Linked DNA regions of Homo sapiens: all the other regions are linked to region 4. Evidence: promoter capture Hi-C in 16 types of primary human blood cells and fetal thymus (Javierre and others, 2016). All regions are on one chromosome and are shown on one strand. The core of a region is centred on a gene start or on the middle of the fragment in contact, and the rest is flanking DNA. Distances in the headings are between cores, read along the strand shown.

What was found. Contacts are between HindIII fragments. The CHiCAGO score rates a contact against its expected background, and 5 or more counts as called.
Region 1: a fragment that was not itself captured here is called in contact with the fragment with the promoter of VPS18 in region 4 in 5 of 17 cell types (endothelial precursors, M2 macrophages, M1 macrophages and 2 more); the score reaches 6.4 in endothelial precursors.
Region 2: a fragment that was not itself captured here is called in contact with the fragment with the promoter of VPS18 in region 4 in 5 of 17 cell types (megakaryocytes, M0 macrophages, M2 macrophages and 2 more); the score reaches 10.1 in megakaryocytes.
Region 3: a fragment that was not itself captured here is called in contact with the fragment with the promoter of VPS18 in region 4 in 9 of 17 cell types (M2 macrophages, total B cells, M0 macrophages and 6 more); the score reaches 8.5 in M2 macrophages.
Region 5: a contact is called between a fragment that was not itself captured here and the fragment with the promoter of VPS18 in region 4, in 16 of 17 cell types (megakaryocytes, endothelial precursors, naive CD4 T cells and 13 more). The highest score is 34.9, in megakaryocytes.

What each region holds. Positions count from the first base shown.
Region 1 is chr15:41,097,451-41,100,150 of GRCh38, reverse strand. All of the region lies in intron 1 of INO80 (INO80 complex ATPase subunit), which reads left to right. Among named protein-coding and RNA genes, the nearest start is that of INO80, 17 kb to the left of the region's middle. The HindIII fragment of the contact is 1,357 bases long and covers 633-1,989 here.
Region 2 is chr15:41,039,506-41,042,205 of GRCh38, reverse strand. The region is part of intron 24 of INO80 (INO80 complex ATPase subunit); the gene reads left to right. Among named protein-coding and RNA genes, the nearest start is that of INO80-AS1, 24 kb to the right of the region's middle. The HindIII fragment of the contact is 3,915 bases long and covers 1-2,700 here.
Region 3 is chr15:41,079,115-41,081,814 of GRCh38, reverse strand. INO80 (INO80 complex ATPase subunit) reads left to right here. Exons shown (of 36, transcript NM_017553.3): 8 at 742-795; 9 at 1,911-2,114. Among named protein-coding and RNA genes, the nearest start is that of INO80, 36 kb to the left of the region's middle. The HindIII fragment of the contact is 1,319 bases long and covers 760-2,078 here.
Region 4 is chr15:40,893,129-40,895,828 of GRCh38, reverse strand. VPS18 (VPS18 core subunit of CORVET and HOPS complexes) reads right to left here and starts at 1,379. Exons shown (of 5, transcript NM_020857.3): 1 at 970-1,379. The coding sequence starts at 1,060. RefSeq lists an enhancer at 564-653 and a silencer at 1,494-1,663. The HindIII fragment of the contact is 16,460 bases long and covers 1-2,700 here.
Region 5 is chr15:41,022,318-41,025,017 of GRCh38, reverse strand. The region is part of intron 25 of INO80 (INO80 complex ATPase subunit); the gene reads left to right. INO80-AS1 (INO80 antisense RNA 1) reads right to left here. Exons shown (of 5, transcript NR_170322.1): 4 at 381-531. Among named protein-coding and RNA genes, the nearest start is that of INO80-AS1, 6.9 kb to the right of the region's middle. The HindIII fragment of the contact is 2,745 bases long and covers 1-2,646 here.

The DNA of each region.
Region 1 (2,700 bases), core at 62-2,561, 200 kb before region 4:
GTGAGCCGAGATTGGGCCACAGCATTCCAGCCTCGGCTACAAGACTTTGTCTCAAAAAAAAAAGAAAAGAAAATATTCCATTCATTTCGAATCACTCCGTATTACTTGGTAGTCATACCTCCTTAATTAGTGTCATTTTCCTTATCAGGTAAAATAACTAGAGCATGGATTAATTGTTCTGTAATAAAAGCTTGGGATGGAGCCAAGCAGAGTAGTTTTACATTTATACATGTATCAAGATGAATTATTTGCTGTTCTCTTAAGGGAGTTTTGTTGTATTTTAAAAACCAATTTCTTTGAAATCTTCTGGAGTGGGTGGGTACACGTTAGGTCTCATTTTGAAAAGGTGAAATTTAAAGTTTTTTTTTTTTTGGATAGTCTCACTCTGTTATGCAGGCTGGAGTACAGTGGTGCGTTCATGACTTACTGAGGTCTCAACCTCCTGGGCTCAAACCATCCTCCCTCCTCAGCCTCCCAAGTGGCTGGGTTTACAGGTGCATGCCACTACACTCAGCTAATTTTTAAATTTTTTTGTAGAGACAAGGTCTCGCCATGTTACTCAGGCTGGTCTTGAACTCTTGGGCTCAAGCTCTCCTCCTGCCTCACCTCCCAAAGTGCTGGGATTACAAGCTTCAGCCACTGCTCCTGGCCAAAAGTATTTTTTAGCATTCTTTTTTCTTTATATTACCAAGACTGACAATTTACAAACTATGAAATTCACATAATTTAAATAAAATATACAGTTCAGTATATTTTGAATATATTTTTGGTAGATTTACAGAATTGTGGAACTATCGCCACAATGGGAGTTTGGAACATTTTTTTTTTCCCTTTTTCTTTCCCTCTCTCTCACTCTCTTGTTGTGTGTGTGTGTGTGTGTTTGTTTTTTTTTTTTTTTTTTTTTTTTTTTTTTGAGACAGGGTCTTACTCCAGGCTGGAGCACAGTGGCACAATGATAGCTCACTGCAGCCTTGACTTCCTGGGCTTAAGCAATCCTCTCACCTCAGCCTCTTGAGTAGCTGGCACTACAGGCACGCATCACCATACTTGGCTAATTTTTAAATTTTTTGTAGGGACACGGTCCTGCTATGTTGCCCAGGCTGGTCTCAAACTCCTGGGCTCAAGGGATCCACCCACTTCAGCCTCCTAAATGTTGAGATTATAGGTGAGAGCCACTGTGTCTAGCCTGTCTTTTTTATTATTCTAGTGGGTATGAAGTAGTATGGTGCTTTAATTTTAATTTATTAATATTTAGCATTTTTTCATGTGTCTATTAGCTAGTCATACATCTTTGTTGGTAAAATGTTCAAAATCTTTTGCTCATTTTTAAATTGGGTTATTTATCTTATAGAGTTGTAGGTTTTATGTGTACACACTGACAAACAACTGTGTAAAAAAAAAGTTGTATATGTGGATACAAGACCTTTATCAGATAGATGATTTGCAAGTATCTTCTAGTCTGTGGCTTGTCTTCATTTTCTTTTTCTTTTTTTTGTCACCCAGGCTGGAGTACAGTTGCAAGATCATGGCTCACTGTAGCCTCAACCTCCTGGGCTGTAAGTGATCCTCCCACTTCAGCCTCCCGAATAGTTTGTCCAGAGGCCTGTGCCACCATGCCCAGCTAATTTTAAATTCTTTTGAAGAGATGAGATCTCACTGTGTTGCCCAGGTTGATCTTGTTTTCCTGGGCTGAAGTGATCCTCCCACTTCAGTCTCCCAGAGTGCTGGGATTACAGGCATGAGCCACTGTGCCTAGTTTGTCTTCATTTTCTTAATGATATATTTTAAAGTGTAAACATTTTTAATTCGCATGGGCTAATTTTTGATCTTTTGTGCTTTTGATTGCATATCTAGAATTTTTTATGGTCAGTCATGAAGATTTTCTCCTGGTTTTTCTAGAAGTTACACTGTTTTAGATAGGAAAGTTATATTAGAAAATTGTAAAAAAAAGAGAAGACAACTCAAAGATGTATGATTGCCTTTAAAGCTTATCACTTAGTTGGCCGGGCGTGGTGGCTCACGCCTGTAATCCCTGCACTTTGGGAGGCTGAGACAGGCGGATCACAAGGTCAGGAGATCAAGACCATTCTGGCCAACACGGTGAAACCCTGTCTCTACTAAAAATACAAAAAAACCGCCACAAATAAACAAAAAAACTTATCATTTCATTTAGTTGTTGTTGTTGTTGTTGTTTTTTGAGATGGGGTTTTGCTCTCGTTGCCCAGCCTGGAGTGCAGTGGCACAGTCTCGGCTCACTGCAACTTCTGCCTCCCAGGTTCAAGTGATTCTCCTGCCTCAGTCTCCTGAGTAGGTGGGATTACAGACGCCTGCCACCATGCCCAGCTAATTTTTGTATTTTTAGTATTTTTGTATTTTAGGCTGGGTACAGTGGCTCATGCCTGTAATCGTAGCACTTTGGGAGGTTGGGACTGGTGGATCACCTGAGGTCAGGAGTTCCAGACCAGCCTGACCAACATGGTGAAACCCCATCTCTACTAAAAATACAACAAATTAGCTAGGTGTGGTGGTGGACGCCTGTAATCCCAGCTACTTGGGAGCCTGAGGCAGGAGAATCACTTGAACCTGTGAGGCAGAGGTTGCAGTGAGCTGAGATCACCCTACTGCAAGAGCGAAACTCCGTCTGAAAAAAATCATAACAATAATTTATGGTTTATTGAGTATTTATGTCATTTGGTGGGC
Region 2 (2,700 bases), core at 5-2,504, 150 kb before region 4:
TGTCTCTATTAAAAATACAAAAACAATTAGCCGGGTGTGGTGGCACATACCTGTAATCTCAGCTACTCAGGAGCCTGAGGTAGGAGAATCTCTTGAACCCGGAGGCAGAAGTTGCAGTGAGCTGAGATCATGCACCTGCACTCCAGCCTGGGCAACAGAGCAAGATTCTGTCTCAAAAAAAAAAAAAAAATTAAAAATTAAAAATTAGCCAAGCATGGTGGTGGGTGCCTGTAGTCCCAGCTACTCAGTAGTCTGAGGCAGGAGAATCCCTTGAACCCAGGATGTCAAGGCTGCAGTGAACCCTGAGTGCACCACTGTACTCCAGCCTCAGTGACAGAGCGAGACCCTGCCTCAAAAAAAAAAAAAAAAAAGGAAATCTTTCCTTTCAGCCAAGCAAAATGATCGTTAGATATTATCCACTCTTAAAGGTTAGCCTAGGTTCTGAATAAAGAACTAGAAGCCGGCTGGGTACAGTGGCTCATGCCTGTTAATCCCAGTACTTTGGGAGGCCAAGGCGGGCAGAGCACCTGAGGTCAGGAGTTCAAGACCAGCCTGGCCAATGTAGTGAAACCCCGTCTCTACTAAAAAAATACAAAAATTAGCTGGGCGTGGCGGTGTGCGCCTGTAATCCCAACTACTAGGGAGGCTGAGGCAGGAGAATTGCTTGAACCCAGGAGGTGGAGGTTGCAATGAGCCAAGATCGCGCCATTACACTCCAGCCTGGGGAACAGGAGCAAAACTCCGTCTCAAAAAAAGAAAGAAAAAAAAAAAAAAGAACTAGAAGCTCCAGGTGTAACAATTAACAACAATGTAGAGGCTAGGCATCGTGGCTCATTCCCGTAATTCCAGCACTTTGGGAGGCTGAGGCGGGATGATCGCTTGAGCCCAGGAGTTAGAGACCAGCCTGGCCAACATGACAAAACCCCATCTCTACCAGAAAAATACAAAAATTAGCCAAGCATGATGCCGTGTACCTGTAGTTCCAGCTACTTGGGAGGCTGAGGTGGGAGGATTGGAAGGCTGAGGTGGAAGGATCGCCTGAGCCCAGGAGGTTGAGGCTACAATAAACGGTGATCCCACCACTGCACTCTGAGCCTCGGAGAGTGACAGAGTGAGACCCTCTACGTCTTTGCAGGAATGTGGCATTGTCTGTCTCTTCATTTAAACTTTGTTGGGTAGTGGTGTCTTATTATGTCTTTAGTTAAATTTCTCCTGTGAAAATGATATTGAATACCTTTTCTGGTGTTTATTGGCCATTTGGATAATTGCCTTTATGAAATGTTTGTTCAGAATTCTTGTTTATTTTTCTATTGGGCTGACTGTATTTTTCTTATGATTTGTAGTTCTTTGTATATTACAAATATCTTCTACTCTGTAACTTTCTCATTTTCAGTGGTACCTTCCCCTGCCCACCCTTTTTTTTTTGAAACAGGATCTGAATTGTTCTGTTGCCCAGGCTGGAATGCACTGATGCAGTCGTAGCTCAGGATTAGGGTTAGGTTAGGGTTAGGTTTGCTGTGTTGTTCAGGCCGGCCTCGAACTCTGGCCTCAAACAATCCTCCGGCCTCAGCCTCCCAAAGTGCTGGGACTTAGGCATGACCCACTGCACCCAGCCTCAATGTTGTCTTCTGATGAATAGTGAATAATTTTTGTGTCCTGTTGAAGAATTCTTTGCCTCCAACAAATTCGCGAAGATAATTCTATTTCTCTCCATATCCCGTTTATTGAAAAGACCATTCTTACTGGACTGTAGCATCACTTGTCAAGCAGGTGTCTATATATGTGTTGGTCAGTTTCTGAACTCTGTTCTCTTCCATGAACCCATTTGACTATCCTTGAACCAGTGCTACTCTATCTTAATAAGTACAGCTTCACGGTAAGTCTTGATAACTGGTGCACAGATCCTCTGACTTTGCATTTCTTCTGTATTGTTTTGGCTGTTCTTAGCCCTTCGTGTATTCATGTAAATTTTAGAATTGGCATATAAATTTTATTTTATCATATTTTCTTTCCTTTTTTTTTGGTAGCAGCAGGGTCTCACTATGTTGTGTCCAGGCTGGTCTTGAACTCCTAGGCTTAAGCAGTTCTCCCACCTTGGTCTCCCAAAGTGCTGCGATCACAGTTGTGAGCCCGTGTACTCGGCTAAATCTTATTTTAATCTCACCTCTTTTTAGCAGTCTAGGTAGTATAGGTCAGTAGTCCCCAAATGTTTTGATTATGTTCCTCTGTAATAACAACATTCGTACTCTATTTCTCCAATGTCTGTATGCTATTTTGTTTTAAATTATATACATGTATTCACATATTAATATTTACATTGTGAAGTTTACGTGTGCCTACCTTGGAAACCACCGATGTGAGCAGTTTATTTGAGTAGGGAATGGTGGTAGAGTGGAGACTCAGTGTTTACTACAGAAGATATTCCTGTGTTTTACATGCTGTACATTGTTTTTCAAACTATTTTAAATTATTTGACCTCAAAGGTCCGTGGAGGGCATGGATTTGTATATCGTAAGTGCTTATCGATTGAATGAATCTCCAGTGTAGACTGTGATCTTTGGGAATTGTCTGGTGCTTCTTTTTTCATTGCTCTAGGCTACCTTCAGAACAGCCTTTTCCCAATGTTAGTCCAGTCCAGCAAGGAGAAACATACGTAATTAATGTTGTTTACAAACATATTACTGCATACCACAGTAGGCA
Region 3 (2,700 bases), core at 170-2,669, 190 kb before region 4:
CTTCTTTGTCACTTTGAACCCATTGTTTCTTTAACATCAAGGAGAGTACTCTTCAGTACTGAAAGAGCCACCCAGCTCTGCCTCTTCAGCATCTTCTTCCATGTCAAATAGACATCATGGGGAGTCAGGTTTCTGTACTGACTTTTGTTTTTCCCCTTAGCTAGAGTGGAAAACACAAATAGCTGGGTTGTGGGCTGCTGGGTCATTTTGTGTTAGGTCTTCCTTGGAGTTTAGTTTTAGAGAAGATTAGGCTTATGTGGTGGCAGAAACTGAGTAATAGTGACATCAGGTTTGCCTAGGCTGGAGGTGGGGCTAGAATCACACTTAGGAGACTAGTTTATCTTTCTCCTAATGATTCCTGTATCTGGATGCCCTGCTCTCTCAGCCTTGCAGATTGGCCCTGGTAAGCAACATGTTTTTAATCAGGATAGTGCTAAGGTTTAGGTATTGTAACATTTTTCTAGTCCACTTCAAGCCTTACATGTAACTTAACATCTTCCCAAAAGTATACAGAAGACTATTTAAGGCATCCACAATGCTGACTTATTCTTCTTGAATGCTTCTTTAATCGTTTTATGTATGGCGTTGAGACAATACATCTGGATGACTTATAGAAGTAATATATCTTGCTTGGCTTGACATTTTCTAACCCTCTAGGAATTGAGTAAAAGACTGTTCATTCTACATAGTCTTAGTTCAAAAATGAATCCTAAATGAAATATTGTTTTTTAAATATTTTAGGCAAATAAGCAGAAAGCTTCAGCTCGTAACCTGTTTCTCACCAATAGCCGAAAGGTAAAATTGTAGTTTTGTATTTTCCATTTCATGTTTTGCTGGAATATATTCTTCTTCTTTGGGGTCCATCTTGCTGCTCTTGTCCGTCGTAACCTGTTGATCATGAATCTAATAGTTCGTAAGAGAGTTTCTGAATGTTCTCAAGCTGTTTATTTTTTATTTTTATTTTTTGAGACAGAGTCTCAGCCACCCAGGCTGGAGTGCAGTGGCAGTGATCTTGGCTCACTGCAACCACCGTCTCCCAGGTTCAAGCGATTCTCCCATCTCAGCCTCCCGAGTAGCTGGGATTATAGGCACCTGCCATCATGCCCTATAATTTTTGTATTTTAGTAGAGACAGTTTCACCATGTTGGCCAGGCTGGTCTTGAACTCCTGACCTCAGGTGATCTGCCTGCCTCAGCCTCCCAAAGTGCTAGGATTACAGGCATGAGCCACCGCGCCCGGCCTCAATCTGTTTATTAAATAAAATTGTTCTTCCTCACATTTCTGGTATTTGAACCTTTTTGGATAAGACCATAGCCCACCCTGATTTCTTGAGCAGATCATGGAATCTTCCTGTCTTCAGTCTCGTCTAAGAAATAATGATGTGAATACCTTCCCTTAGAGGAGACTAAAACAACTTCCTTTAAGAATTGTGAGGATCAGATTAGGCCATGTTATTAGTTGTGTTTCTCTGGGGTAGTCATTCAACTGTGTTTCCTCATTTATAAATGAGGGTGATGGTAATGCCAATTTCATAGGGTTTTTGTGAAGAGTAAATTGGTTTAATATATTTTTCAGTGGTGCTAAAGATGTAATAAGCAGTGATAGCTGTTATTAATGTGTGCAATAACATTTTGTAACTTCCAAGCACATCCCAGGTCCTTCTTCATCATTATAATTTTTCATCTTCTAAGGTGATAGAAATTGGATAGATTTCTTATCCCTGATAATACCACAGGGTCTGGGCCTATGTCACAGTACTGTACAAGGACATTAATCAAGTTGCAGGAGAAAGATGTGGTCAAGGATGACAGTTTGGCTGAACAGATTGAGGAATGATGTGGTTTAGAGTCCAGGAAGAACCAGCTTCTGGTATGGGGTCCTTTCCGCTGTAATGCTGTTGTTGTTTTCAGCTTGCTCACCAGTGCATGAAGGAGGTGCGTCGAGCTGCCTTGCAGGCCCAGAAGAACTGTAAGGAAACCTTGCCTCGTGCCCGCCGCCTCACCAAGGAGATGCTTCTGTACTGGAAGAAATATGAGAAAGTAGAGAAGGAGCACCGCAAGAGAGCAGAGAAGGAAGCTTTGGAGCAGCGGAAGTTGGATGAGGAAATGCGGGAGGTAGGGCAAAAGCATAACATTTTGAAAACCCTAATTACTACAGCCATTTGAAGAGATTCGTTTGCATTTTGAAAATTGTACATCTAACCAATGACACTGTCAATTTTTTGTTTTTTTTTTTTTTTTGGTAGAGATGCGGTTTCTCCACATTGCCCAGGCTGGTCTCAAACTCCTGAGCTTCGAGTGATCCGCCTGCCTTGATCTCCTACCGTCAGAAATTTTTTTAAAGACTTAATTTTGAGGATGGTGATTTTAGACTAGTAAACCAATTCTGCTTTTAGTCTTTTGGTAAGGCCCTCCTCAGGCCTTTTTCTCTTTTCTTCTAAGCTGTCTTCCTCTATTCTGGGCTCTTATTCCTCAAGAAAAAGGAATGAGCAAAAGAGAAAGAAAGTAGCTTTTAATTCATCTTGGTTTGTTTGTAGGTGCTGACTGCAGTTTTGCTTTTTTTGGACAGTAAGAAATAGATGCCAAATTCAGGGCCAGATAGGGACAGTGGACAATGAGCCCAGTTTTCTAAGACTTACCCTTCACCTACTGTACTGTTTTATTTATTTTTTTGTTTTGAGATGAAGTTTCACTCTTGTCG
Region 4 (2,700 bases), core at 130-2,629:
ATCCCCAGGACCTTGGTTAACAAATAGTTTGATATCAAGTCGTTTGCTGGTCACCTTTACAATAGAGGTCTGGAGCTCTTTCCACACTCTGACAGCAGTGAGGGGTTGATTCTTTGAACCCTTAAGATGCTGTCACAGCATGATATACCTGCTCCCACTGGTAATGGGGCTGCGTGGAGGTGGGACGGGACTGGTGGTCTGGGTATTCTCCCTTATCAGGTCTTTGGCCCAGCAATCCCAGCTTAACTGAAGTAGTATAGCCCCATTCTCTGCCCCCCTCCCTGCCCATGCGGTAATGAGCCTCAGTGTAGAGTTGGCAAGTGCTGGGATATTTTGAGCATTGAATGAAGGTAAAGACTAGAGTGAAAGCAGCTCCAATTCGTTAACTCCACTCACTGGAACAGTTCCCCAGGGCTCCCTATGCCCTCATTCTCCTGGAGACTCACTACTTTCTACAAAAACGTCCCCAAACTCCAGGCTGCACCCAGCTATAGCCAAGGCCAAAAAGATTTCATCTCCATTTTCCCCGTTCAGCGACAAAATTCCCTCTGGGACCCTCCCTTCTTCCTCTGCAATACTCCGCCTTCACCACTTTCTTTGTCCATTCCTTCCCTCCCACCTCCAGAAGGGGCCTGGTGGGAAAAGCATCAGCAGAAGCCGGGAGCCCATTCTAAGTTCTCCCAACAGCCCAACTGCGCCCTGTAGGTGAGTAATTCCTTATCTGGGCCCCAATTCCCTCTCAAAAGGACCCTAGCGGTAGAGCCTAGATCACGCGGCAGCTCCCGTTGCTCTTTCAAACTTCGACTATCCACCAGCTGGGGGCCAAGAGAGCCTGAGGAGAATCAGGGGCCTAGACCCGGAAGGCACGGCCCAGGGGATGACCCCGAGCTCTTGGAGCTGCCCTCCTCGCTGCTCCCACGCAAATGCTAGGAGAGCCGAAAGGGGCAGCGGCACCCTCCTCTTCCTTACCCGAGTGGGGGATGCCCACGCTAGGGCAGCCGGGCTGCAAGACGGCCGAGCGGGACAGCGAGTTCTCGTACTCATCCAGGATGGACGCCATGGTGCCCGGCCTCTGGGCTCTTTGTCCGGGGCCTGGGGATTACAAAAGGGCTACCCCCCCGGGGTCCCCGTCGCCCCAGAATGGAAGCTGTAACTCCCCAGCCTCTGACAGATCCTGGGAACCTGCAGCCGTCGCCTCCTCTTTAAAATCCTGAGGATCCTCTTGCTCTTGCCTTATGCAGCGAGATAATCGGGCAGCCCTCGTCCTTGAATCTGGCGCAGTCTTGCACCTTACTCCCCGCCCCCGCTACAAAAAAATCACAGGCTCCCTTCAGCCGGTGCCAGGTGATCCCAACCTCGCCCCGGCAGCTCAGCTGACTCCCGCCCCCGTGACGCGGGCCTAAAACGTAACTTCCGGGTTCTCAGAGCCCCGCGTACGCTGGCGCACAACGTCGCCGGGCCAGCCAGCAGAAGGCGAGACGAGGGCTGAGGGCTGGGCGCGTGGCGAGTGCTGCTGAACACAAGCCCCGCCCCCAGGATCCTGCTGCAGTTCCGAGCTTTGACACCAGGAGGCAATCCCGGCTTTCTCAGCCGGCCTTCCCCACCCGCCCCGCGCCGCCCAGTTTTGGCTTTCGTGCCCAAGCTCCGCTCCCTCGGGTGGTCTGTCCAGCCTCCCTGACCAGCTCCCGCTCCCGCCTCTCTAAACAGCCTCGGGGAACCTCCCGTTCCTCAATCCAATCGCTGTCTCTATCCCACCGTCACAGGGCACACGCAGACAACTCCTGGCCACTCTTCTCCCTTACCCAAAGGCCCCCCAGCTTCCAGGAGACCGCAGAGCTGGTGGCCAGGCTAGTGGGAAGCCCTGTGCCAGGAACCGCCCTGACCTGCCCCACAGTGGCTCCTTGGCTCAGGGTTGCTGGGCCGCTTCCATTCACTCATTCACCAAAATGTGGTTGAGCACTTACTCTGTGCCAGGCCTTGGGCTGGGCGCTGGGGTCACAGAGATGAGGACAGCCCCTCCCCGCCCTGGAAAAGGTCGTAAGCCAGCAGGGGCGCTGGACCCGTAAATAGACCATTCATACTAGAAAAGCAAGTGATGGATTATCCATCAGGCACTTACTCCACGAATGAGCGTCCACTCTGTGCCAAGCACTGTTCCAGGCTCTGGGGACGTGGCAGAGAACAAGACGGAAAATGTCTCTTGCCTGGTGGGGCGTACCCAGCGACGTGGCCACGGCACTGAGAGCGTGAAGGAGCAGGGAACAAATACCTGCCAAGCCTAGCAAGAACGAGGGACAAGTGGGAGCAAGCGTGAAGGCGGGGGCCGCCCAGCCTGAGGTGGAGAGGGGAGTCCTCAGCCAGGGACCTGCGAGGGCTGGGGCGCGACTGTGGTTGGGTTTTCCTCTCTCACCTGCTTAGGCGACCCAGATGGAGTCTGTTCCCTTCTGGGGCCCTTGGATTCTACCTTGCTAAAGTGGAAGGCTCTGGACTAGGGTCGCCACCGTCCTGGCTCTGCTGGGCGGCCCCCGCCTAACAACTAAGAGCATCCCTTTGCTCTCAGAAGTTTCCAGGTTTGCACCATACCTTATGTGGTTGGGTTACTCTTGCTCAACTTCCTGGCCACGTGCGGAGAACTGTGACTCTCACCAGCCCCACTGAGGGCTATCTGGGCTCTCTGGCTTGGAGGGGCACTAGTCCTGG
Region 5 (2,700 bases), core at 25-2,524, 130 kb before region 4:
ATTACACCGTGATTATTAGGAGGACAGGAAGAAGAGTTTAGATATCTCTATTTCATACACAGATCTACAACTTTTACCTTTCAGATCAGTCCTAGGGATTCAGATCAGTGAATAAGGCAAAATTTCATGAGATACCCTAATTATATCTTATATTGACTTCTAACCCATCTGTATTGGGGAGAGAGAAACTGATGTCCTTTGAAGCCAACCCTGGCCTTGAATTAGGCAAATTAATTTCTCTGACACATGCTATGAAAACTTGAGGGTTAGTTCAGGAAGAACTGTGCCACTATGGAAGGAATTATAGGAGCTGTTTTATCATTAGCTGAGGAAATAATTCTGCAGGGTTAATAAATTAAGGCCTTAGGAATTATTCTTACCAAAATACTGCAGCGCTTGGAGCGGTTACGCTTCCTTCAGCTAGAGCAGGAACATACGTGTCCTCAGGAAGGACGCGCTGAACGCTTAAGGGGGCAGCCCCTGAAGGTACTGTAGTTTCAGAGGTTAATGAAGCAAGAAAGGGGTTAGCTCCTGTAGGACGAGGGAGAGTATGCATTTTTTGTGGGGAGGGAAGAACGGTACGTCATGCTTCATCTCTCCTTCTGATCAAATCGGGAGGTCACTTGGGGTTAGCAGAATAGGGGGAGGCTGTCTGGGATACAGCTGACTTAGAAAGCAGGATTTACTCTAAGTATATTGGACATTTTTGCCCTCTTTTGGACCTCATAAGTACATTGCTTACATACTTACAACATGACATTGTATGATTCTGAATATATTAATATCTTGATCCTGGGCTCCTGGCCAAAGAAGCCTCTCAAAACACTGAAAAATATTTCACTAAGAACAGTGTCTTGCAAACCTCTTAAGCATTCAATCCTAGACCTGGAAGGGTATCATCAAAATGAAAATTGAAAAATAGATGAAAGTTTATAACTGGAAAAAGTTGTTTTGTTTTTAAACTATAAGAGTGCCTAGAAATGAATCCCAGGCAGAAAAACCATTTTTCCTGTTTCTCTGTTCTTTCATGCTGAGATTCTAGCTTTTGGCTTTTCATCTCGAGACTATGAGCCCAGAGTCTTTATGTATAATTCCAATATAAGTTCTGCTTTTTTACAAAATAAATAAATAAATAAAAATTTTTAAATCAAAACGGTTATCTGTGAGTATAAAAATTGGTCTGTATGAGGTTTTTTTGTTGTTTTTTTTTGTTTCTTTTTTTCGTTTTGTTTTGTTTTTTTTTTTTTTTGAGACAGAGTCTCACTCTGTCACCCAGGCTGGAGTGCAGTGGTGCAATCTCAGCTCACTGTAACCTCCACCTCTTGGATTCAAGTGATTCTCCCACCTCAGCCTCCAGAGTAGCAGAGATTACAGGCAGGCACCACCATGCCCAGCTAATTTTTGTATTTTTAGTAGAGACGGGGTTTCACCATGTTGGCCAGGCCAGTCTCGAACTCCTGACCTCAGGTGATTCACCCACCTCGGCCTCCCAAACTGCTGGGATTACAGGTGTGAGCCACCGCGCTTTAGTCTTACTAGAGAAGACTAAATATGCTTTACTTATCTAAGAGTATGCATGCTGTTCAAGACATATAGAACTGGTCATATTTCTATAGTCTAGACTTACTTTTTAAACTTTTTATAGAAGTATAGCTGCTATTAATTTTGCAGGTCTGCGACACACATCCTACATGGGAGATGTTTGCTCTGACCCACGATCTGCTGGGATACTGCCATGTCAAGTCATAGAAGGGAGAGAGACCCAATTTTCATCCACCTGCTTTGTATTCCTGTATTTATTTGCTTTCTTTTGGTCCATATTTATTTGCCCATGCTCATGTATTAGTGGGAAAAATGAATAAGTTGGAAGCAAGAAAACAAGTTCCTTCTTTTTTTAACTTTTTTTTTTTTTTTTTTGAGACAGTCTGTCACCCTGTTGCCCAGGCTGGAGTGCAGTGGCACAGTCTTGGCTCATTGCAACATCTGCCTCCTAGGTTCAAGCCATTCTTGTGCCTCAGCCTCCCAACTATCTGGGATTAGAGGTGAACGCCACCATGCCAGGCTAATTTTTGTATTTTTTGTAGAGATGGGGTTTTGCCATCTTGGCCAGGCTAGTCTTGAACTCCTGACCTTAGGCGATCTGCCACCTCAGCCTTCCAAAGTGCTGGGATTACAGGTGTGAGCCACCATGCTCAGCCGAAAACAAGTTCCTTTTGGAGAGGATAAAGGTGATATGAGATTCTAGTATTGTTTGGATAAACTATTTTTGTTGTGAACTGGTTTTGGAACTCCAGGCCCAGTTTGCTGTGACCCTCTGTAGTTTTGCATCTGGACCATAGATGGCACTGCTCCCTAGCAAACTCAGTTCAGCTTCATCTGCAAGCCAGAGTACTCTCTGGTTATTGGTAAATGATGCTCTTTCTGTCACGTTGGTACCCTCCAGAGGCACCTACAGCCCATGGTCAGCTGTTCATATGTCTCAAGGCAGTATTTCTCAAGGTTCAACTTGGGACGCTGGGGTGCTTGTCAAAAACATAGGTCTATTGGCCCCTCCCTCAGTTCTTCTGGTTCAAAATCTACACTTTTGGTCCGCTTCAAAGGAGGTCCTTATGTGTACCAAAACCTGACAGCCATTTCCCTAAAGCTTGATCAACACAAAAGGAGAAAAGTTAATAGCAAGATCAAGTTCCCTTGGTGCCT